Regions from separate parts of the Homo sapiens genome. Here all the other regions are linked to region 4. The links are contacts of gene promoters, found by promoter capture Hi-C in human tissues and cell types (Jung and others, 2019). All regions are on one chromosome and are shown on one strand. Each heading gives the region's core, a stretch centred on a gene start or on the middle of the fragment in contact. The rest is flanking DNA. Distances are from core to core; before and after follow the strand shown. Region 1 overlaps NFATC1 (nuclear factor of activated T cells 1). Region 2 overlaps NFATC1 (nuclear factor of activated T cells 1). Region 3 has its middle 3.3 kb from the start of PARD6G. Region 4 holds the start of HSBP1L1 (heat shock factor binding protein 1 like 1).

Region 1 (2,888 bases), core at 161-2,660, 460 kb before region 4:
ATCAGCTGCAATAAATATGCTCAAAGAACTGAAAGAAATTGTATTTAAAAAATTACAGGGGAGTGTGGCAAATATATCTTACCAGATAGAGAATATCCATAATGAGATTTTTAAAAAAAAAAAAAAAGAAGCCAAATAGAAATTACACAGTTGAAAAGTAAATGAAAAATGCATTAGAGAGGCTGAACAACAGATTTGAGCTGGCAGAGAAAAAGAATCAAACGTAAAAATCAACAGATTATTTAGACTGAGGAACAGAAAGAAGAAAGAATCAATAAAAATGAACAAAGCCTCAGAGCATGTGAGATGCTGTAAACACATATACACATGCATAATGAGTTATAGAAAGAGATGATTAGAAGAAATACGTGAAGAAATAATGGCCCCAAACTTCCTAAATTTGATGGAAAACATTATTCAGTGCATCCAAATGGTTCACAAAATTCAAATGGGATAAATTAAAAGCAGCTCACACACAGACATAAACCAAACTGTTGAAAGTCAAAGGGAGAGACAATCCCGAAAGCAGTGAGAGGAAAACAGCTTCTCAGTACGTGGGATGCTCAGCAGGATTAACAGCCAGCTGCTTATTGTGAATCGTGGATGTCGGAGGACAGTGGGACGGCGCATTCAAAATGCTGAAAGAAAACCACTGTCAACCAAGAATTCTATATCTAGTAAAACTCATCTTTAGAGATGAAGAAACAAAGCTGTGCTCAGATAAACAAGACACACAGAATTTGTTGCCAACAGACCTGACCTACAGGACATATTAAAGGGAGTCCTTCAGGCTGAGGTAAGAAGCACTGGTGAGAGTAATTACATAGGTGAATTAAAAAGACAGCACAAACATGTTTTAAACTTTTCTTCTCTGAACTGATGTAAAAGGAAACTGCATAAGACACGATTGCAAACCTGTGCTGATAACAATGTGCTTATAACAATTTGTGTGACAGTAGCACAAAGGAAGGGGTGGGGAAGGAAGTTACAGCAAAGCAAAGTCTTTACATATTATTAGAACTCAGTATTCATCTGAAATAGACTGTTTTGACTAAGATGCTTGTTGTAATCTCCAGAGGAACCACTAAGAAAATATATATGTGTGTGAGTGTGTCACACACACACATAAAATGTCAAAAAATGCACTTAAATGATACACTAGAAAATATGTGTGTAACACAAAATAAGCCAGTAATGAAGGAACATAGAAACAATGACAACAGCAAAAGTTACACAAGACATGTAGAGAACAAATAGCAAAATGGAAAACATAATCCTACCGTATCAATAATCACATTAAATGTCAGTGGAATAAACACCCCAATAAAAAGGTAGATGTTGTCAGACTGGATGTTAAAGACAGAATGAAACAGGGTACAACCATATGCTGTCTAAAAAATACATATTTTAGATTTAAAGACACAAATAGGTTGAAAGTAAAATGATAAAGAGATACTGTGCAATAGTAATCAAAAGAGATATGGAGATAATGGAAAAAATACATACTTCAGATTTAAAGACACAAATAGGTTGAAAGTGAAAGGATGAAAAAGATAGGCAGAGTTAATGTAGAAATTTGGAGTAGCTACACTAATATCAGACAAATTAAACTCTAAGATAAAAATATTACTAGAAACAATGAACTGTCAGTAGTCATGTTCTCTTTGATCTTAAACCTGATACATTGAACAGGAAGATATAAACACATTTGCACATAACAGAGCCCCATAATACATGAAACAAGAACTGACAGAATTAAAGGGAGAAATACATAGTTGAAAAATAATAGCTGGAGACCAGTATATCACTCTTAATGGATAGAACAACTAGACAGAAAATCAAAAGGATATAAAACACTTAAGACTATCAACCAACTTTACAAGACATCTGTAGGACACTCTACAGAGTGCACATAGGATAGACTTCCTACTATGCCATAAAACAAGCCTTAATAAATTTCAAAATATTCTGATTGCAATGGATATCAATTGAAAATCAACAACAGATATTTCCACAAATATTTGGAAACTAAACAACACATTTCTAAATAATTAATGAGTGAAGTTAGAAAGTATAAGGGAAATTGGAAAATATTTTGAACTAAATGCAAATGAAAACACAACATATCAAAATTTGTGGGATGCAGGTAAGGCAGTGCTTAGAGGGAAATTTATAGCTTTAAATGCCTATATGAGGAATAAGATGGATTTCAAATCAATAATCTAAGCTTTTTCCTTAAAAATGTTGAAAAAGGAGAGAAAAAACCCAAGGCAAGTGGAAAAAAGGAAATGCTGAGGATGAGAAGAAAAAGCAATGAAATAGAAACATGAGAAAAATCAATAAAACCAAAGTTAGTTATTTGAAAAAACAACAAAATTGACAAAACTTTAATGAGTTTTTCTAACAAGAAAAATTAGGAATGAAAGAGGGGACATTGCTACTGACCCTGCAAAAATCAAAAGGTTATAAGGGAATACTATAACCTTATGCCAACAGATTAAACAACCTGGATGAAATGGAAACATTCTTAGACACGAATTACCTAAACTGACTCAGGAAGAAACAGAAAAGTATAATAGACCTATAGCAGGGAAATAAAAGAAATTAATAATTTAACATATTCTCACAAAGAAAAGCCCAGACCCAGAGAGCTTTACTGGTTAATTTTATTAAACATTACAAGAATAATACCAGTGCCAATACTCCACAAACTCTTCAGAAAATGAAGAAGGAACACTTCTAATACTGAAGCCAGTATAGCCCTAATACCAAAATCAAAAGTATCGTAAGAAAAACTATAGAAAAATATTCTTTATGAACACAGGAGCAAAAATCCACAACAAAATATTATCAAACTGAATCCAACAACATAAAAAAAAGATTTTACA
Region 2 (3,015 bases), core at 251-2,750, 500 kb before region 4:
CCCACCCCGGGGTCTGCGGGGGTCAGGGCCTGCCTCCTCTTCCTCAGTTGGAGTGAATTTGGGGTCTGACTGAGGGCCTCGGCCATCGTCAAATGTGACAAACACAGGCCCTCCCCAGAGACCGCGTCTCCAGGAAGCACCTGCTCCTCTGGGTTTCGCTGCAGTCACCTGAGCAGGTGCTGGGCCACCGAGCACTTCCATCACACAGTGGCTGGCGGCGGAGCCTTGGGTCGTTTTCTGAAGGTCACCAACCCTTTGGCATCAGAGCAGGCAGAGCCTTTTGCATCCCCGCCAGTCCCCTTGCCCAGGTGGCCCCGGGCAACCTCCACCCTCAGGCACCCGGTCCCAGTTCTGTTTACAGCTTCTCTTTTCCTGGCTTCTTTCCCCATATTGACAAGATTTCAGTCTTAGGTTGGTCTTGTCTGCTGTGCTGCTCTGAGGAAGCCTCTCGGCTCCTGGGTGTGCAAGAAGCCAAGGGCAGCCCCTTCCCTGTGAGCGTGCGTGTCCACACGCGTGTGCAGGTGGCACAGAGCATCCAGGGCTGTCATCAGCTGCTTCTGGACCGCCCAGGTGGCTGCTTGGGAGTTTACCGTCACGGCAGTCCTGTGCTGCCGTGGAAACGCGGGGTTGCCGTGTGGCCGCCGTGGAAACGCGGGGTTGCCGTGTGGCCGCCGTGGAAACGCGGGGTTGCCGTGTGGCCGCCGTGGCGCGGCAGCCATCGCCTGCCCGGTGCTGATTGTGCCTCCTGTGTGCCCTTCTCCTGTAGAATTCTCTGGTGGTTGAGATCCCGCCATTTCGGAATCAGAGGATAACCAGCCCCGTTCACGTCAGTTTCTACGTCTGCAACGGGAAGAGAAAGCGAAGCCAGTACCAGCGTTTCACCTACCTTCCCGCCAACGGTAACGCCATCTTTCTAACCGTAAGCCGTGAACATGAGCGCGTGGGGTGCTTTTTCTAAAGACGCAGAAACGACGTCGCCGTAAAGCAGCGTGGCGTGTTGCACATTTAACTGTGTGATGTCCCGTTAGTGAGACCGAGCCATCGATGCCCTGAAAAGGAAAGGAAAAGGGAAGCTTCGGATGCATTTTCCTTGATCCCTGTTGGGGGTGGGGGGCGGGGGTTGCATACTCAGATAGTCACGGTTATTTTGCTTCTTGCGAATGTATAACAGCCAAGGGGAAAACATGGCTCTTCTGCTCCAAAAAACTGAGGGGGTCCTGGTGTGCATTTGCACCCTAAAGCTGCTTACGGTGAAAAGGCAAATAGGTATAGCTATTTTGCAGGCACCTTTAGGAATAAACTTTGCTTTTAAGCCTGTAGTCCTGATGTGGTCTTTAAGGATGGTGAATGAGCTTTGTGCTGGGCGGACGTCCCCGAGACACTTCTCCAGGGGTAACTTCATCTCCTGGGACCACGGGCATCCAGGCTGGGGCACCTTCTCCTCAACCTGCCTGCCCCTCACCCGCCGTGGGAATGGCTCCTTTTCACTCATACAAAAAAAAAAAAAAATCATCTTACCTTTTTAACCTTTAGGGTGTTTTCTTAAAGAAAATACCATCCAGTTTGTTTCTTCAGTCCCTGAACCAGTAGAAGAGAAAGGCGTCCCCCACGCCATCCCCGGCTTCCTTTGTGGGTACAGGCCACTCCCCCCAGCTCGGAGAGGACAGAATTAGCAGTCATCCTGAATTTTACTGTATTTTGTGGGTACAGGCCACTCCCCACAGCTCGGAGGGGACAGTTAGCGGTCATCCTGAATTTTACTGTATTTTGGGTAAGCTTAGCTAACATCAATAATCTTTTTATATTGCTTTTTTTCTAAAAACTGCAGAGATTCCTGTCATCTGAGAGGGAAATTACACACTGGGCGCTAATTGCAAAAGCAGCTGCGTTCTCTTAGTAAAATCAGGGTGTTTTGGAAGGTTTCCATTTTCTCTGAATGTAAACAGCATTTGTAATAGACCAGATCCTAAGGAAGCCCTTGAATCCCCACGTTCACACCAAACTGTTGGGACTCCTTGTTTTTATCAGGCAAGCTCTGGAAAGGCCTCTCAAGATGTGGAAAATGGGGTTTTGCTGTAAAGTCGCTGTACCCTAAGAGTGTCTGTGAGACAGAGCTGCAGGGGTGATGTGCAGCCCCCAGCCCAGCCCTCGCGGGGAAGAGCCTCACGCTCTGTGACCCCCAGGATTGTGGGGAGGGCCTCATGCTCTGGGACCCCCGGGATTGTGGGGAAGAGCCTCATGCTCTGGGACCCCCGGGATTGTGGGGAAGGGCCTCACGCTCTGGGACCCCCAGGATTGTGGGGAAGAGCCTCACGCTCTGGGACCCCCGGGATTGTGGGGAAGAGCCTCACGCTCTGGGACCCCCGGGATTGTGGGGAAGGGCCTCACGCTCTGGACCCCCCTGGGGTTTACGTGGTCTGTGCCGCCCACACTTAGTGAGTCCAGCCCATTCTTGGAACAAAGTACAATATATCTTACAGAAGAAAATATTTTATCTTTTTCTGAAAATATAATGATTGAGTCCTAATTAAACTTCAAGCATGGTTGACCAGAAATTGAATGTTTTAAAGAAAACCTAGGCCTTATAGAGAAGGATTGCTTTCCAGAGCAGTGCATTAATTTTTTTCTTATTTGCTCAGCATGCGGCAGTCCCCACCGTGGGTTTGAGCAGCACTGACTTTAGCACAGATCACGTATCTCAGAGGCAGAAGGGGCGTGCGGGGAGCGTGCCTGCCCTTCACAGGTGGGAGGTGGCGGCCCCCAGGACCGTGGCCACAGCATGAAGCCGGTGGGGCTGAGCCGCTCCTGCTACCTCCAGTCCACACCCCACCTGGCAGCCGGCCGTCCTGTCCTACCAGCCACACTCCTGCCTCGATTGGCCCCGGCTCCCCTCTCAGCATTGTGCCCAGCGTGGACATCTCTCCTGCACCCCCTGCCCAGTGTCTCGGCTGCACCCTCCACCCCCCATCTGCTCCAGCATGGCTCAACGCAGGCCAGGTTCCCCAGGCTCACCCT
Region 3 (3,282 bases), core at 761-3,260, 290 kb after region 4:
CTGTTTTAAAAATTTGCTTATATTCAATGTTTTAAATGGACTTCTAAAATTAGAACTACTAGGCCACAAACTACACACCTCTAAAGCCTTTAACACAAATTACTTTCATAGAAATCTGATTTTCCTTTATTTTTGCTAAGTATTTACCCTGTTATATGCTGGGACTTAGTGCCAGGGAGTACCATTACAAAGCCACTGAGTTATAATCACTGCCCTTTAGAGAAATGCTAGGCTGGCCAGAGGACCGGATATGTAAACAGAGTTCCAAAACAAGGCACGTGCGCAGTAAGTAAGCAAGCAAACAAAAAATGCCAAGAGACACACACTTGGCAAGCAGACTGTGGACAGAGGTGCTGCCATTCTTTCAAGGGAAATTTCCTAAACTGAATGCAAATCTTTGGATTTGAGAAAAGTCACAGGCTCAATGCTGACTGCAAGTTGCCCATTACAGTGGGCAACATTGTTTTGTGGTTAGAAGAGGCTCAGTAATATCCTGAGGGAGGAGCTCCAACTGTCACATTTTAAGAAATGCAGGGACAAAGGAGTATGTGGAGGAATGAACAGCACTGTAGGCAATGAAGGTGGGAGTGGGGTCCACCCAGTAAGCTCGGGGCTTTGGAGTGGGAAGACGCCTTTTAAAGGAAAGGCTGGAAGGCTACGGAATTTCAAGTAGCCCTAGACTTGGCTCTGGACCAGGTTGATGAGAGTGAGATCACTTTGTCAATGCCTGTGGCTCAGAGTGTGGTGTAAGGCCCAAAATCTGCTCCACCTGGCACTTGTTAGCAATACCCCACCCAGACCCACTGAATCAGAATCCGCACTTGAACAAGATCCCCAGGTGATTCATGTCCACACTGAAGTTTGAGAGGTGCTGCTCCTTTATCTTAATCATCTGTTGCTCCACAGTTCTTGATTGGCATGATCTGCAGGCAAAAGCAGGAGGAAAGGCTGGGAAAGCTTGCTGTTGCGTGTGGAGCTTGAGTTTCCAGCTGAGACTTGAACTGGATTTGCTAGGGCTTTGAGCTCTAGGTTCAGGCGGGTATAGACCAAAAAAAAATTAACTGAGCCTTCAGCTGGAAAGGCTTTTACACAGTACAGCAGCCAGATTGGAAAAAACAAAAGCCCTCTCCTACCAGACACAGTGGCTCACACCTGTAATCCCAACACACTGGGAGGCTGAGGCTGGAGGATTGCTTGAGGCCAGGAGTTTGAGACTAGCCTAGGCAACATGGTGAAACCCTGTCTCTCCAAAAAAAAAAAAAAATTAGCTGGGCATGGTGGGACACACCTATAGTCCCAGCTACTCAGGCGGCCAAGGTGGGAGAATTGCTTGAGCCCAGGAGGTCGAGGCTGCAGTGGGCTATGATTGTGCCACTGCACTCCAGCCTGGGTGACAGAGAGAGACCTCATCTAAGCAAAAAGAAGGGAGTGGGGGAGGAAAAGGAAAAGAAGAAAGAAAGAGAAAAGAAAGGAGAGAGAGAAAAGACTCCTCAGATCCTGGCCTGATAGCCTGCCTTTTCACACAACTGGGGGTCATGGGAGCCTCTGAGAGGCTGACTTGTTTCAGACAGAAAATGAGAGAGAAAATAGGAATGGGTAGGGGTTAAATCTTCCTCAAATCACGGCTTCTAAGAACCCATCTAATAACTGAACCATCAGGAGCAAAAAGGAAGTATGTTGTGGACCCAGTAAAATGTATTCCTTGACTGGGTGCAGTAGCTCAAGCCTGTAATCCTAGCACTTTGGAAGGCCCCTCTGCAGTGGCTCATGCCTGTAATCCTAGCACTTTGGAAGGCCCCTCTGCAGTGGCTCATGCCTGTAATCCTAGCACTTTGGAAGGCCAAGAGGGGCAGATTGTTTGAGACTGGGGAGGCTGAGGTGGGAGGATTTCTTGAGACTGGAAGGTCGAGTGTGTGGTGAGCTGTGATCATGCCACTGCACTCCAGGGCATAGCAGAGTGAGACCCTGTTGAAAAAAAGATGAGAGCAGGTTCTTTTATGATGAGAGCAGGCTCTTTTATGATGAGAGCAGGCTCTTTTATGATTGAACATTTGTTGCTGATGTATATGTTCTAAGAAAACATTCTCTAAGATAATTTCGTTGGGTAATAGGAAAGCATCGCTGTAATATTTGAACCAGCAGGCTGTTGCATTTGCAATGCATTCTAATATATTTTCGGATGAGGCAGGCAAAGAACTGATATTCGATTGAAATAAGGAAATGGCAGAGTAGTTATGCCTCATTATCACCTGATTCTCATATAAAGGCATCCCTTCTTTTTACCCTTTACTCTTCCCCTGCTCAAAGAGGCCTCTTCTGCCTTTTTTAAAAATTTTCATTTTTGAGATGGAGTTTCATTCTTGTTGCCCAGGCTGGGGTGCAATGGCGCGATCTTGGCCCACTGAAACCTCCGCCTTCCGAGTTCAAGCGATTCTCCTGCCTCAGCCTCCCAAATAGCTAGGACTATAGTCATGTGCCACGACGCCCGGCTAATTTTGCATTTTTAGTAGAGACAGGGTTTCACCATGTTGTCCATGCTGATCTCGAATTCCTGACCTCAGGTGATCCACTCGCCTCGGCCTCCCAAAGTGCTGGGATTATAGGTGTGAGCCACTGTGTCTAGCCTCTTCTGCCTTTTTGATGCAGTAATATCTTGACTCTCAATGGAAGCTTCATGCCTAAATTGACTTACCAGTAGCTCTTTCAGCAGATGGCACCGTTGGCCAGAATAGAATGAATTCCCTGCATTCCAGAGCCATCTGCCCACATCCTACAAAGTGGCCCTGGTTGCATCCCCTAGATTGGTGCAAAGGGCTCTCTCCTCAACCAGCTTGCGGTGTGACCTGCATGTCCACCCCCAGGTGGAAGACAAAAGGCAGGTGGTAAACCTTACGCAGCTGTCTCTGACTTTGCATTAAAACTCTGGGACACTTTTACAAAATACAAATAAAAGCACCTAGAACATGAAGCACAGTCTTTGTTCCAAGTATTACACTAAGCATGGATTAGAGTCTCAGGATCTGTTTTAAAAAGAGTCAGTCCGTAAAGCTTTTCACTGACTTGGTGAATGTATCAGAATGTGATTTTATGGCAGAAAAGCGTGGTCAGTTTTCAGCCACACAGCATCCATTCATCAGCATGATTCATCTCCTCGTGCACACTCCCAAAGCATTTCAGAGGTTCAAAGCAGTTGCAGGCCCTACTGATTTCCTATTAGATGAAACTGCATGCTTTTCCTCTTGTCTATTTCAGCATGGTTTCTTGGTGGTCCAGTTTACGGCC
Region 4 (3,116 bases), core at 617-3,116:
ATTTAAAGGGCATAATTCAACAGTTTTGAGTATATTTACAGGGTTGTGAAACCTTCTTACGATCTAATTTTAGAACATTTTTGTCCCCCCACAAAGAAACCCCAGACCTCCTAAATCTCTCCGCACTCTCCCTCGTCCCTGCAGCCCCCAGCAACAGAAGTCAACTTTCTGTCTCCGTGGCCTTGCCTGTTCCAACTCTCCATGGACTTACCACTCAGGGTCTTCACGCCTGGCCTCTGCCACCCAGCGTTGTTCCGGAGGCCCGCCTGCTTCGTAGCGTGCGTCAGCGCCTCACTCCTTTGTGTGGCTGAGGAATATTCTATCATCTGCATTTTGTCACCTACTTATTGGGGGTGGACATTTGGGTGGTTTCCACCTTTTGAGCATTACTGATGCTGCAGTAGACTTGGTGCACTCGCGCTGTCGTTTCGGTATATGCCTAGGGGTGGCGCGGCTGGGCCCTGTGGAAACTGCTTCACTTCTGAGGACCCACCCGACTTTTTCACAGCACTGCAGCCTTTCACAGCCCACCGGCTGCGTGGGGGGGGCCACAATCCCCACACGCCTCTCGGACTTACGTTTGTCTCTCTGATTCTAGCCATGCTGGTGGGTTGCAGTGGGAGCTCATTGTGGTTTTGGTTTGTGTTTTCCTGATGACTGGTTGTAATGAGAAAAACCGAGAATCACATTTAAAACCTTACCCTAAAGTGGGAGTTGCTGAGAGACCAAAGAATGACTGGGCGGAGTCCAGCTTGGTGAGTAGGTGAGTTTATTAGGACTCACATGTGGGGCACTCGTGGGCAGCAGGACAACTCTAGAGATGAGCGTGCTTCTGTCCCTAAGCTGCTTTTGAGCTAATTTTCTGCCTCTTTGCGCCGTCTGTGTGATGGGCCTGCTCCCTGTGGTGGTTCTCACATCCCCTCCGGGCTGTTTGGGTTCTCAGGGACACCTGCTCCTCGCTGGGCACCGTGGCCTGGACTCACCGCCTGGCCTTTAGGGTTCAGGCCACAGACATCCGCCCTGAAGTAACCTGGCGGGAACCGCCACGCCACAGCGGTGGTGCTGGGTGGCTGTGTTTTATTTATCCGCACATGGAGACACCAGAGCTTCCAGGTGTGGTCACTGGGCTGTGCCCTAGGGATGCTGGGGTGACCAGACATAGCCCTGTTCCCACAGCGCTGCACAGGGGCACAGACATGGCAACAAGACTGGTAACCCTAAAACACCGTCCTGGGAGGTCACCCACAAGGTGACGAGCCACAACCCAGGTGTGAAAGAGGCCAGGGAAGGCCCGGCGTGGTGGCCCAGGCCTGCGGTCCCAGCACTTTGGGAGGCCGAGGCAGGAGGATCACTTGTGCCCAGGAATTCGAGACCAGCCTGGGCAACATAGTAAGATCCCGTCTCTACAAAAAATAAAAAAGATCAGCCGGACCTGGTGGCGCGCGCCCGTGGTCCCAGCTACTGGCCAGGCCGAGGCAGGAGGATCGCTTGGGCCCGGGAAGTCGAGGCTGCGGGGAGCCATAGTCGCCACTGCACCCCAGCCTGGGCCACAGAGCGAGCCCCCGTCTCTGAGAAACGCAGCAGGGGTGACCGAGGCCCATGCACTGCCCGTGCGGAGCGTTTTGGGGGTGTAGGTGGCCGGTGGCGCCCACGGGCCCTCTTGAGTAAGGCGGCTCCGCCCAGGCCGTCCCGGGGCCTCGGCTCGGCTCGGCTCGGGAAGCCGCAGAGCCTGGGGGCGCGGACCAGTCCTCCGAGGCGGCCGCTCGGTGACATTGCGTCCCTGCAGGTGCAGCGCCCGCCTCTCCGCTCCGGCCCCGCCTCCGCCCTGGAACGCAGCGCGCTCCGCCCGAGGCCTCCCGGCGGCCCATACGGGAATCGCGGAGCTTAGCTGTCGCCACCTCGCGCCGGGTCCGCGCGGCCCACGGGACCCCCCACTGACGCCCCCGGCCAGCGGTCCACATGGACGTGCGGGGCCCTGAAGCCCCCGGCGGGCGCGCGCTGCGGGACGCGGTGAGCCCCTCCCCGACTCCTGCTTCTCTCTGGATGGGGGCGCCCCTGCGGTTCTGGGGGGTTTTGAGGTCCTGGGGGGGGAGCCTGCGGTGCTGGGGGTGCCCTGCGGTCTTCGTGGGGCCCTGAGGTCCTGGGGGGCCTGCGATCCTGAGGACTCCTGTGGTCCTGAGGAGTCCTGAGTGCCTGGGAGGCCTGTGGTCCTGGGGGGGCCCCTGAAGACCTGGGGGACCCTGCGGTCCTGGGGGGGCCTGAGGTGCAGGGGGGAGCCCTGCTGTCCTGGGGGACCCTGCGATCCTCGGGGGGCCTGAGGTCCTGGGGGGAGCCCTGCAGTACTGGGGGGCATTGAGGTCGGGGTCAGTGGGGAAACAACTGGGCCAAAGGGTGCCCGAAAGGGGACCCACGAGTGTCGCAGCGCCCAGGGCTCCGGCCTCTTCCGGGAAATCCTCCCGCTCCCCAGGCCTTCCTACTTGCCAAAGAGTTCCAGGCCCACAAGAGGACTGGCTATGAGGAAGAGACCTGGAATCTGAAGGAATGTGTTGGGCGTTGTGCAAACCCTAACGTAAATTTCCTGACAAAGGTAGAAAGCCCTGGCATGGTTCAGAGGTGGGGCCTCCTCCTATGTCGACGGGATTCTAGATTCACACCATGGTACGTGGGGCTCCCTGGGATCTTGAACCCCCAGCTGGGAGAATTTTGTGCTTCTCAGCCTCACTGTTCTCATCTCACCCTGGACACGGTCGCAGGGTGAGGAGTAGATTACACCGTGAATGGTGTGGGACGTCAGTCTGTAAACTACAAAGCAGTATATAAACAGGAAACGCTTTCAGTAGCAATGGTGGTATTTCTGTGTGACCTGGTAAGTAATTTCATAAGAATTCTTGAGGAGCGCAGGGTCACGAGATTTTCTCCTGCATCCTCCTCTGCATGCTTTATGGCCTTGGCTCTGGGCCAAGGTGTGTGATCTCCTGCATTCATGGTGTGTGGTGTGAGGAGGGGGATGGGTCCCTGCCCCGTCTGCACGTGGCCCTCATGATTCCCGCGCTGCTTGTTGAAAAGACTTTCCTTTCCCTCTGAATCCAAAGGCCTTAGCACCTTTGTCAGAAGTC

Evidence for each region. The method cuts DNA at HindIII sites, captures the fragments that hold promoters and counts their contacts. A contact is called where the count stands out against the background at its distance.
Region 1: a fragment that was not itself captured here is called in contact with the fragment with the promoter of HSBP1L1 in region 4 in 2 of the 25 tissues and cell types used here (IMR-90 fibroblasts and spleen).
Region 2: a contact is called between a fragment that was not itself captured here and the fragment with the promoter of HSBP1L1 in region 4, in 2 of the 25 tissues and cell types used here (heart left ventricle and lymphoblastoid cells).
Region 3: a contact is called between a fragment that was not itself captured here and the fragment with the promoter of HSBP1L1 in region 4, in 2 of the 25 tissues and cell types used here (IMR-90 fibroblasts and lymphoblastoid cells).

Annotation. Positions count from the first base shown.
Region 1 is chr18:79,498,239-79,501,126 of GRCh38, forward strand. The region is part of intron 9 of NFATC1 (nuclear factor of activated T cells 1); the gene reads left to right. Among named protein-coding and RNA genes, the nearest start is that of NFATC1, 100 kb to the left of the region's middle. The HindIII fragment of the contact is 8,968 bases long and covers 1-2,888 here.
Region 2 is chr18:79,466,684-79,469,698 of GRCh38, forward strand. NFATC1 (nuclear factor of activated T cells 1) reads left to right here. Exons shown (of 10, transcript NM_001278669.2): 8 at 767-899. It overlaps LOC107985162 (a long non-coding RNA gene), which reads right to left. Exons shown (of 2, transcript XR_001753518.2): 2 at 2,636-3,015. Among named protein-coding and RNA genes, the nearest start is that of NFATC1, 72 kb to the left of the region's middle. The HindIII fragment of the contact is 4,601 bases long and covers 1-3,015 here.
Region 3 is chr18:80,249,142-80,252,423 of GRCh38, forward strand. No RefSeq gene overlaps it. Among named protein-coding and RNA genes, the nearest start is that of PARD6G, 3.3 kb to the left of the region's middle. The HindIII fragment of the contact is 3,076 bases long and covers 473-3,282 here.
Region 4 is chr18:79,962,777-79,965,892 of GRCh38, forward strand. HSBP1L1 (heat shock factor binding protein 1 like 1) reads left to right here and starts at 1,867. Exons shown (of 4, transcript NM_001136180.2): 1 at 1,867-2,010. The coding sequence starts at 1,960. RefSeq lists an enhancer at 349-428 and a silencer at 1,524-2,093. The HindIII fragment of the contact is 12,330 bases long and covers 1-3,116 here.